3 separate regions of the Homo sapiens genome follow, and regions 1 and 2 are each linked to region 3. The links are contacts of gene promoters, found by promoter capture Hi-C in human tissues and cell types (Jung and others, 2019). All regions are on one chromosome and are shown on one strand. Each heading gives the region's core, a stretch centred on a gene start or on the middle of the fragment in contact. The rest is flanking DNA. Distances are from core to core; before and after follow the strand shown.

Region 1 (4,008 bases), core at 180-2,679, 170 kb after region 3:
CGCCACTGCACTCCAGCCTGGGTGACAGAGCGACTCTCCATCTCAAAAAAAAAAAAAAAAAAAAAATTTAAAGTCTGTCATACTTGAGATTTTCTTTTTAAGCCAATAAAGCATTATAGATACAGTTGATGCTCCCTCATGTATATTTCCGGATCCTACTCCAACCCCATCCTGCTTCTTCATAGGTAGATAATACCTTGAATTTGTTGTTTACCATTTTTGGGCATGTTTTTTATACCCTTCACTTTATAACATGTATCCATGTAAGTGATGATATTGCTTTGCATATTTTCAAACTACATAAATGGTATCATATTATATGTACGATATTTCACCTTTTTTTTACTCATTATGTTTTGAGATAATCACCCTGATATATATGTGTATGTGTGTATAGATATGTATGCATCTATAGATAGCTTTGGCTTATTCTTTCTCACTGTTGTATGGTATTCCATTGTAAAAAAAAGTCTATCACATTTTTCTTCTTTTTCTATTGGAGGATATTTAAGTTGCTTCCAGTTTTTCATATTATGAACAATGTTAAAATGAACAGTCTTATAACTTAATCCTTATACAAGCCAGAGTTCCTTTAAGGTATATACCCCAGAGCAGAAGGCTGAGTAGAAGATGACCATGCCCATCCTCTTTTACTTCATATTGCCAAACTACTCTTCAAGGTGACTATATAATTTTAAACTCCCACTAGTAGTGAATCAGACTTCCTGTTGCTCCTCTTTGTCACAATTATTATGGAAGTCTTATTTTTGCATCTAATAAATGTGAAAATGTATCATTTTAATCTGTAATTTATCTGATTATTGAGAGTGAGCATCTATTCATATGTTAAATATGTTAACTGCCAATATGGTTTTTTATTCTGTGAACTGCTGGTTCATATTCTCTATCCACTTTTCTAAAATTCTTATCTTATTGGCCTATGGATATAATCTAGATACTAATCTTTGTTAGCTACATGCATTGCAAATCTTCCCTGGTCTTTTAATTTTGTTACTGGTGGTAACAAAATTTTTGTAGAATAGAACTTTAAAATTTTAATGCATTAAACCTTATCAGAGCAGGTGCAGTGGCTCACGCCTATAATCCTAGCCATTTAGGAGGCGAAGATGGGAGGATTGCTTGAGGACAGGAGTTTGAGACCAGCCTGAGCAACACAGCGAGACCCTGTCTCTTAAAAAACACACAACAAGCATTAAATAACAACAACAACAAAAACCATTCTGAATCATGGAAGACAACAAAACAAAACAAAACAAAATAAAACAAAAACAAAACCCCAAAAACAATTATCACTTAGTAATAAAACAAAACAAAAAAATTTATCAATCTTTTGTTATGTTTTTTGTGTCTTGTTCAAAAAAAAACAAATCCTTCAGTGTCCCCAGTGTTATACTACTATTAATATTCTCCTATATTTCCTTCTAAAAGTTTTGCTTTTTCCATTTCGGTTTTTAATCTACCTAAAAAAAATGTGTGTGAGTATGTTCATATATTTTGAAGTAAGAATGAAGAATTTTCCCATATAATTGTTAGATTATCGATTGTCTAAGTAGCATTTATTAACTAATCCATTCTTCGCCCTTTGATGTAAAAAATATCTCAGGTTTCCAGATATGTAGATACATTTCTGGGTTCTCTCTATTCTGCTCCACTAGTCTATTTGTCTACATCTAAGCCATTATCTTCATTTGTATTTTTTGTAGCTTTCTAATAAGTCTTGTTGTCTATCTTGTGGACCAATCATTTTATGTTAGTCTTCTTAAAACTGTCTTAGCTATTCTTGGTTTTATTCTTTCACTTGAATTTCAGGGTCATCTTCTCAGGTTCCCCAAAAATTTCTGCTGAGATTTTGGTTGGAATTGCACTGAATTTATAGATGAAATGTGACACTTACTGTTTAATAGTTTAAAACAAATAAAATGGAAAGATATACTTAAAAGACTGGCAAGAAACACACTAAAAACAAGTGATTTTTCCTTTATAAGTATTTTTTTTAAAAAAAGAATATGTAATTACTTTTTCCATAAACAAGAAATGATTTTAAAAATATGAAAAAAATGTATATTTCATTCTAACCTGCAAGGCTGCACAGCAGCCCAGTTTTCTATATAAGAATCAGCTCTACAAATAGAAACTCTTGCACAGCTTCTAAAAAAACCAATAAAATAAAAGTGGGGAATGCTGACAACATTAAACAACTTTAGCCATTCTGAGCTGCTCTTGTGCATGCCAGATATCAAAACTAAAATCTCTGGAAGCAGTTCCACAATTTCTATTTCAATTGCTTACATGCTCCCAGCCCACAGAACAGACCTCTCTTTTTGTGTCTAATCTGTATTTTGATTATTGATTCAATAACATCTTATCAGAGATCAGTTATGGTGCAGTTTTTTCCTAACTGGGAATCATTTTCTTGAGGCTTCTTCTCCCTTCTTCACAGATAGTAAGCAGATCTGTTGCCCCCTTCTGGTTTGTGGCTGTAAGCTTAGCAATACGGGTACACGTATGACAGATTTGATTTGCTGTCTTTTAGGGTCAGGAAGCTTCCCCCAAAATGTGATATCCTTTCTAAATGTGTGTTGAACTACTAGTGTTCCTAAGCATCTACTTCTCCACATTCCTGAGCCTTGATGGCCCTTACACCTTGATGCCCTTGGGGCAGGGGTGGTGCGGATGGTTAGGGAAACCTAAACCAGAAATCAAATACATTTTCCCATAAGAGAGAAGTATGGGAAATAAATACTCCTTGCTTCTCCCGATGTTACAATCTAGTATAGTCAACATTAAAGCTAAATTTTATTGAGCACTGACCTTCTTTGTCCCAAGACTGTTCTAAGGGCATTATAACGTTATCAATTTCTTGGAGTCTCATAAATACCCTAAAGCACAGGCACTATTTTAACACTCATTTTATGAGGGAGGAAATGGATGGCACATTCGACATTCAAATCCAGGCACTCTGGCTCAAGTCCATACTCTTGTCTACTATACTATACTGTGTCTCAGGTAAAGAGAAAGAAAGAAATATTTTTGACAGAAGACAAAACAAAATAAGTAAGCACCCCTGAATAGGTAAAACAAAATTTTATAGATGGGTCAGAGAGATCACATTCAACCGTGAAAATCAGGGTAAGTTTATGAGTGTAGCAGAATTTGGGACAGGCCTTAAAACACAGGCTGTATTCTGTTAGAAAGAGACAGTGGGGAGGGAAGAGCATAGGCAAGATATGAAAGTAGAAGGCACATTCAGAGAACAGTAGTCCATTCCAACTGGAGTCTGAAAGCACTGTGTAAGTGTGTAAGTCTGTTATTACCTGCTATTATTCAGCAAATGGAGGACTATACTAATCTATACGTATGAGATGCACAAAGTTCTCACTTGAACACATAATTTCAGTGTTTGACTTATCAAAACTCTGCCAAGATTTTTACCAATGAAGACTAATGATTGAGTTTCACCTCTTGGTAGTGTCCATCACTGAACTATGTAACAGCCAGTGCATAATGAATACACTGTTCATGTGCTGTAATGATCTGGTGTTGGAAGACCTAGTTTTAAGTCCCAGCTTTGCCTATTACTAGGTATAAAATGGTGATACTATTTGTCTTAAAATCAGCATTGCTATTAAAAAAACAGAATAGACCTCAAAATGTAAAATCTGCCTGTTCAAAACAAACATACCTGGAAATCTATCATGAAAATGAAAGCAGCCTAGACCACTAAACAGAATTCACATCAAATACTTCTAGCTCCTCAGATGTCCTCTTGCCTAGACACACAGCATCTGGAAATACTCAGGAATTTATTTGCCTTTGGCCTCAAAAACCATGATGCAATCAACTGAAACTTCTGTTCCCATAAATCTCTCCTTGAAGCTTCTGTTTATCTACTCAGCTCTCCCTTAAATATTATACCAGTTTCTGAAACGATCTCTTAATTATTTTCAAATCAAACTGCGTTACACTTAAAACCCTACTGAAGTAGGG
Region 2 (3,538 bases), core at 781-3,280, 210 kb before region 3:
TGGGCAGGGAGGGATGATTTATGATCTCCTCTCTTTGGGCTCAGCGTGGATGCTGTGGGAGGAAGGAGGCTGCTCTGCCCAGGGGCAGGAGCAGAGCACCCACACACCATGCAGAGGATCACTGGACACATCTCACATAGTCAGGGTTGGAGAAGAACTCATGATCACCTGATCAGCCTCTCAAGTCTACAGAGGCAGAAAATGAGGCACAGGGAGAAAATGGGGCTGGATGAAGGCCCACTCTTAGCCCATGCCAGAGCAGAGGAACATCCATTCATGCCTAATCCAATGCACTGTGCTGATTCACCTCTCTCAGTGGTGAATTTTCCCATCTGGAAAACTAGGCTGATATTGTAGATCCTAGCTTACAAAAACATTCTCAACTGGAATGTGAAAGAATACACAATTGGGAGTCAGAAGACATTGGTTTGGGTCCTAACCCTGTGGGATCTTGGGCAAGGCACTTTGCCTATTTGAGTCTCAGTTTACCTTCTGTAACATGAGGTGAATTATCAACAATAATAGCTAATATTCTTGAACCCTCACTGTGGGCCAGGCAATGTGCTAAGTGTTAGGGTTATTTCAATTATTCTTCTTAATAACCTTAAGAGGGAGGTACTATTATTCCTATTTTAAAGATGAGGAAACTGAGGTTGAGTTTAATTAGCTTGAGTAAGGTCTCAAAGCTAGGTGATAGTATTTATCGCACAAGGTTTATGTAAGAGTTGCATAAGCTGCTTATGAATGTGTTTTTCGATTATGAAATACACATGCAAACAATTTTCCATGTAAAAGTATTTTGAATTTTTTTGAGAAAAAGTCCTGAATGCCAAGTCATCACTGTTTGATCTTATTTGCCAAATGTTCTTTGAATTGCTGCTGAGTGTGAAGAACCATGTCAAGTGCTGGAGAGGAGGGCATGCTGCAACCCCCACTCTCATGGAGGTTACAGGTCAGCAGCTAACGCAGCCATCCAGGTAAAAATGACAAGTGGGATGTGAACCCAGGAGTGGGAATGGATGGTGGGTAAGGGAATGAGCTTTGTCTGGAACAGTGGTTTCTAACCCTGGCCAATCCCAGAGATTCTGATTTACCAGGGAAGGGAAGGAGCCCAGACATCATTGTTTTTTAAAGCCCTCTGGGATTGGAATGGGCCACCACAATTCAGACCTGCTGATCCAGATGATGAAGACATCTCCCTGAGGAAGTAACATTTAAGCTAGGGGCTGCTGGAGTTTGAAGATGGTTCATTCTAACTGCAGCTGACAGCTTTGCCAGGTAGATGTTTCTCTCTTCTGACAGGGAGGGCTGGAGACCACAGTCAGGAGGGACCCCCAGGTGAGCTGCACTTCCTGAGAGAAACTCAGCCAGACGGCAAGGCTGCCCACCCCACCCTCCACATTCACTGCCCCACATCGGTGGAGAGAAGTGGTTTCCTCTGGAGCTGATAGCTCCACCTGTCGCCTCTGTGCAGCCAGCTGCTACTGAGTAGGGGCTGGGTGAGGAGTAGATCCAGGATTCTTGGAGGTGTGACTTTGAAGACTGGTTTCTCCCTTCACCCATCAGGCTGCCAATGGGGGCTGCTCCCCAGACAGGCTGCATCCATGGTGCCCCTTCATGTCACACAGCCAGGCCTGGGAGATGCAACGTCAAAAAACACATTCAGAGACAGTGCATACAATTCTTACAAAGACTCTATCAGCTAGCAGTGAGACCTCGGGCCAGTTGATTAAACTCTGAGCCTCAGTTTCTTCACCTATAAAATGAGGATAATAGTGGTAGTGTTTTATGAAAACAACCATAAAGTTGTTTTTATGAAAGAGTAGCCAGGACAGAGGAAGCCCCTTTGATGCTGGCACATGGGGTGAAGGCTCATGCCCCCCTCAAGTCAGCTCTGCCAGGTCAGCTGTATCATGCATTCAGTAAATGAAGTCACACCTAGGCCAGGTGAAAGGATGTACCCTTAGCACGTTAGCCAAGAGGCCTTGCTAGTTCTGAGCCCCCAAATGAGGAACACCAGTGTTGGTTGGAGGCAGTCCTGCTCTAGGGAGGGGGCTGCTCTTGGAGCAGAAATGGAGACGGACTGCTTGCCCCAGTGTCAAACAAGAAGATGGAGTTGAACATGACCACCCATTCTCCCCACATTTACCAAGCAGAGAAGCTTCCATCTCCACACGTGCAGTGGAAGTACAAGGTGAAGAGAATCTAGAATCTCCCCTACTGAGGAGGTTTCCTCTATCCAGACACACAGCACGAGTGGGGAAGAAGCATTGCAACCTCTACCCCCACCCTGCCACCATCTTGCACATGAAACCCTGGAGTTTTAGAACTGAAGGTACTTTAAAGATCATCTAGACCAACCCACTCATTTACAGAAGAGGAAATAGACTCAGAGAGGGAGAATGACTTGATGAAGGGGAAGAGCTGAGACTCAAACAGGGTCTCCTGGCTCCTGGACCTGTGTCTGTTTCATGTCTGGGGTGGAGCTGGCAGGGCTTTTTCCAGGTCATGCTCTAGCGGCATGAACATCTCCAGCCAGGCCCATCCCTATCAGCATTGCATGTAGGGATGGCACTCAGCCTTGCCAGTCCTTTCTTTAGTTAAATGTTTCATGGATGAATGAGATGAGATATATCTGGGTGACATCTCTTCTGTTTAATTGTAATATTATAACTGTTTATCAATATATAACCTTTAATATGCATCTATCAAACAAATGTCTATTCTTTAACATGTACTTGTCCTTGTGTTTCATGCATAATGAAACCAAATGGAAGAAACAGCCCTACATTATCACCTTCTTCCTGGATCTGCTGTCTTCCCATCTCGATTCTGCCTTTACAACTTGGCCTTTGCCTTTAACAACACATCTAGGACAATGCCACTCCCAAATTGGCTCAGCTCACAGCAGTGCTACTACCTGCCTTATTCTGGCCATGTGGGAGTGTTTCTAATCATAACATGGCAGAACTGGAATGGCTCTTACAGATTATCTGGTCCAGTGGATTTCAAGATCCTCATTTCCTTAGTGAAACTCTCTTATAAAACACAATCTTATGTGAAATTCTAAAGGTGGAGCTCTTGGGAGGCAGCAGGGGGTCCAGGGCCAGAGGCTGTCCCACTTGGCTTTCCTTTTGCCCTGTTCTTTTCCATCTTCTAGCCCTCTAAGATAAGGTGCCCATGTTGCAGATGAGCAAAGTGAGTTCCAGAAAATGAAGTCACATGGTTGGTGAGCCTAGATTCTAGAGTCTGATAACAAGTTGCTTATAAAAAAATAAGTCGTGCTTTTCAGTTTTCATTTGTGAAAATTCTGATATTTTTGGCATTAAATAAATGAGTAAAACTGAGCCTTTAATTATAGAGTTAGTCTTTTAATTAGTTTGTCAAACATTTGTTAAGCACATGATCTTTCCAGTTGCATTAAAAATTCATGATTTGAATGTAGATACAATAAAAATTGGCCTTTGGTGCTAATGAAAATCAGAGAGTGCCTATAATTAAGATTAAATTCCATTGTAAGTATGAACCCTCCCAAGTA
Region 3 (3,895 bases), core at 264-2,763:
TGTCTCCCATGCCAGGGTGTCAGGAAAGATATAAGAGCAAAGAGTACATGACCAATAAGTCATGGCAGCTAACACCTAAGACACTGGGTTATTTTGGAAATCTTAAGAATATCTAGGTGATTATCTATCTATCTATCTATCTATCTATCTATCTATCTATCTATCATCTATATTTTACTAACAGGCATTCTAGTATTAAAGCTATGTTGACTAATTTCCATCTATTCCTCTTCCTTAAAGCTCGAATTCCCCAGTCTTCTATGATACCATGTTTGCACATTTTGCTCTTTCCTCACCCTCCTCCCCTTTTCTGGGACAGAAGCTATATTCAGTATGTTTGTGAGAAACGGTTGTAAATAGGCTGCCTTAAAAAAAAAAACAAAAAAACAAAAACAAAAAACACATTTTTTAGTTCTTCTAAACACAAACAAAGGCAATAAAAATTCCCAATGCTACAGGTATTTTAAAAGACATCATTGTCACGAGGTAATTTTGCTTGTGTGTTCCCCAAGGAACTGAAAAGTACATTATAGTCACTGTAACCCTGCTGAGTAGAGACAGTATCTTCTCTTTATTCTTTGTTATTACTGATACTATCTGTTCAGCACATTAAGGAAAGAAATTGGTATCTAATATAATACATCTGCATTTCTCTCATTTCCCATGAGCACCACAAAGCCAGTACTTTTTCATCCTTGGCCCTGCCAGAGTAGAATCCAAGGCCTGAACAATAGTAGGCTTAAGTTTTGCATTTTTGATGTATTCTTTAAGTGAAGGTGGTAAATATTGATATTGGTAAATATCAGTAAATTCGTCTTCTTAAAGCCACAAGGTCAAAGAAAAGACAGGTTCCGTCTTCCTAGGCGGGGTACCCACAGCCCCGCATCTGCCCACTGTGGCTATCCCAGTTCCTGAGAACCTGGCTACATCATACACAGCACACAAGGCAGAGGCCTGACTAGTGCAACTCCAACAAGAGAAAAGACCCCCACTCCGAAAATGGAAACTCATCCCATTCCCATGCACAGACAGGGTGAGGGTGAGGAGTGGGCAGTGGGTGTGTACGTGGTGGGTGGTGTAGGTTGAGAGCGTCTTCCCCCTTCACGGCTGCAGCAGGAGCTCAGCGGGCGCCCCAGCCCCTTGGCTCGCGGCCCTGCCCCGACCATTGTCCGCACACCTCGTCCCTCCAGCTTCCGGGCCGCGGGCGAGATGATTTGCTGCAGATGACATCAGCCCCGGGCCAACGGCTGGAAGAGCGGAGGCAGCCACCGCGTGAGGATGTGCCGGGTGGTCCTTTCCTCCTCCTCTTCCTCCTCCTCCCGGCTCCCTGCCTAGTCTCCATATAAAAGCGGCGCCGCCTCCCCGCCCTCTCTCACTCCCCGCTCCTCTCCGCCGCGCACTCTCCGCGGCGCTGGGAGAGGGCGGAGGGGGAGGCGGCGCGCGGCGCCAGAGGAGGGGGGACGCAGGGGGCGGAGCGGAGACAGTACCTTCGGAGATAATCCTTTCTCCTGCCGCAGTGGAGAGGAGCGGCCGGAGCGAGACACTTCGCCGAGGCACAGCAGCCGGCAGGATGGCGACCGTGGTGGTGGAAGCCACCGAGCCGGAGCCGTCCGGCAGCATCGCCAACCCGGCGGCGTCCACCTCGCCTAGCCTGTCGCACCGCTTCCTTGACAGCAAGTTCTACTTGCTGGTGGTCGTCGGCGAGATCGTGACCGAGGAGCACCTGCGGCGTGCCATCGGCAACATCGAGCTCGGTAAGTGGCCCCGCGCCCCCAGAGACGCGCGCTGGGAGACGCGCAAACACGACCCCACCCAGGGCGCGACGGTCACTGCGCTCCTCCCGCGCGCCCCGCACCCATGCCTCTCCTCGTCACCTCTCATACTTGGTCCAGACCCTTTCTGGGCTAATTAAGAATAATCCGAATTATTAGATATGAGACCCAGAGGGAGAGTCTCCAATAACCTTGAGGGATCTGTCACCACGCTGAGTCCGCAGCCTGTGCTGAGTTGGCCACCGCCTCTCCCGCTAAGTGAAATGCAGGTGTCAGGGGAGCAGAGGCCACAATAAAGCCGCAACCGCAGGAGGCAGAAGGGTGGGGGAGACCTGATGCAACCACTCCTTTCAGTCCTCTTCTGGCCTCAGGAAAAGGCTGGGACCCCCACCACCGCAGACCTGGGGCCGAAGCCCATGTGCCAGGGCCCGCGTGGGATTCATCCTCACCACGGCTACCTCAGCCCCTGAGAAACGCCTTTTCTGATTTCAAACCTCCCGATCCTTTCTTTCCTCAGAATGACTAGGCTAGTCCTAGGGCCACGCCCGCTCCCCCCGCCCCCCCCTCCCCGGGGAGATGCTGGGATGCAGAACCGCCTGCGCTTCGCCACCAGACAGAGCCCGCCTCGCTACCGCCCTTGGGGCCTTGGCTGCAGCTCTCAGAAAGGACAATGGGACCCCAAGTTGCGGGGTGGGGCTGCTGCTTTTAGAAGTCCCAGCCTCGGGAGTGGTAGCTTGAAGGGGGTCGGTGAGGGAGACGTCAGCGGGTAGGGTCAGCTCCTCGCCCGGTGCTCGCACCAGTGGCGCGCTCTGCGGAGGCCGAATAGCGGTACGCCGGGGACCCTGGGCGGGGCCGTGAGGGTCCGGCGGGCACAGCCTCGGGCGCACAGAGAGACCGCCCCCAGCCCCACCCGAGCTGCCGCAGTGCCTCCGGACCGCCCGCCACACCTGCCCCCCCACACTGCGGCGCCCCCGTCGGGCACGGCTGGCTGGGCTTGCGCTCCGCCCGGGCCTCGGGCTGGCGGGGGCCGCGCGCCCCCACCTCTCAGTTTGCCTGGCTTTGTTGCCCTGGGAGTCCCTGGGTGGGCAGCTCTGGTCTCTGCCTTTCCCTTTATCCCTGGCGTCCCGGCCCTCCCCTCGCTCCTGACAGAGGTCGCCGGGTCCCTCCGCAGCCCCAGCCCGCGCTCTATTCTCCTGGGGTGGTGCTGAAGCGTTTCTCCGGGAGACACCGGTTGGTGGGCGTGGTGCAGTCCGCACTGCGGTCTCTACGGCAGCCCGAGGCGGACAAAGGGCGTTCACGCAGCCCTCGTTCCCCACTCCCCCTCCCCAATAAAAGACGAAAGAAAAACCTTGTTTTAGATGAAAAAATAAATGCTTGTCATCTGCCTCTGCAGTTGGAAACGGCCACTTGTCCCCAGAACAAAAGGCTGCAGGGTGGGGACTGGAGTTGCAGACCTGGTTCTTTTGTTTAACTTTAAAGCACTTGATTTTCCCTTTTAGCTTAAAAAAAAAAAAGAAAAAAAATGTGAGCAGAAAGTCATAGTATTTTATTCCAAAAAATTCAAGAACAAGAGATATTTCAGTAGTGAAATGTCTTATTTGAGCATCTCAATAACCCTTCATTTTCAGACTATATAGGCCTTTGGTCTAATCTGTTCTAATTTAGTTTATTTGCACAATTTTCTCCTGGAAAAATTTTACACATACTGACTTTGGGTGTGGCTATTGTGGGAATCAATGACTTTGGATTTTTTTCTTTAAAAAATTATTTGTAAGTAGCATTTCTGGGAAATAGGAATATATTAGGAGGTGCTTTTCTATCTACAAAATCTTCATAACCATTCGATGTGGTGGTGCTAGGAGAGGGATCATCAACCCCGTTTTAGAGCTGGGGGCCCAGAGAGGCAGGAAGGGTAAGAGAACCGGCTCAAGGTCACAGCACTCATAAGTGACAGAAGTACCAGTACTGCAGCGTCACTCGTTTTCTGACCCTGTCATGATGTTAGTGCAGGGTTGGCTAACATCCTATGATGGGAGGAAGGTTTCAGTACAACAGTTTTCAGGGCTTGCCTTTGTATGGCCATCCACTTGTGGGCAGCGCCCCATGCTGGGAGATGGTTCAGC

Evidence for each region. The method cuts DNA at HindIII sites, captures the fragments that hold promoters and counts their contacts. A contact is called where the count stands out against the background at its distance.
Region 1: a contact is called between a fragment that was not itself captured here and the fragment with the promoter of MAP1B in region 3, in 1 of the 25 tissues and cell types used here (mesenchymal stem cells).
Region 2: a fragment that was not itself captured here is called in contact with the fragment with the promoter of MAP1B in region 3 in 1 of the 25 tissues and cell types used here (lymphoblastoid cells).

Annotation. Positions count from the first base shown.
Region 1 is chr5:72,278,399-72,282,406 of GRCh38, forward strand. All of the region lies in intron 4 of MRPS27 (mitochondrial ribosomal protein S27), which reads right to left. It overlaps LOC107986422 (a long non-coding RNA gene), which reads right to left. Exons shown (of 2, transcript XR_001742742.2): 2 at 2,452-4,008. Among named protein-coding and RNA genes, the nearest start is that of MRPS27, 40 kb to the right of the region's middle. The HindIII fragment of the contact is 3,602 bases long and covers 1-3,230 here.
Region 2 is chr5:71,892,863-71,896,400 of GRCh38, forward strand. No RefSeq gene overlaps it. Among named protein-coding and RNA genes, the nearest start is that of CARTPT, 180 kb to the left of the region's middle. The HindIII fragment of the contact is 4,518 bases long and covers 1-3,538 here.
Region 3 is chr5:72,105,962-72,109,856 of GRCh38, forward strand. It overlaps MAP1B (microtubule associated protein 1B), which reads left to right and starts at 1,514. Exons shown (of 7, transcript NM_005909.5): 1 at 1,514-1,754. The coding sequence starts at 1,571. It overlaps LOC105379028 (a long non-coding RNA gene), which reads right to left. Exons shown (of 3, transcript XR_007058813.1): 1 at 2,814-3,895; 2 at 1,964-2,026. RefSeq lists enhancers at 1,433-2,415, 2,821-3,115. The HindIII fragment of the contact is 7,344 bases long and covers 111-3,895 here.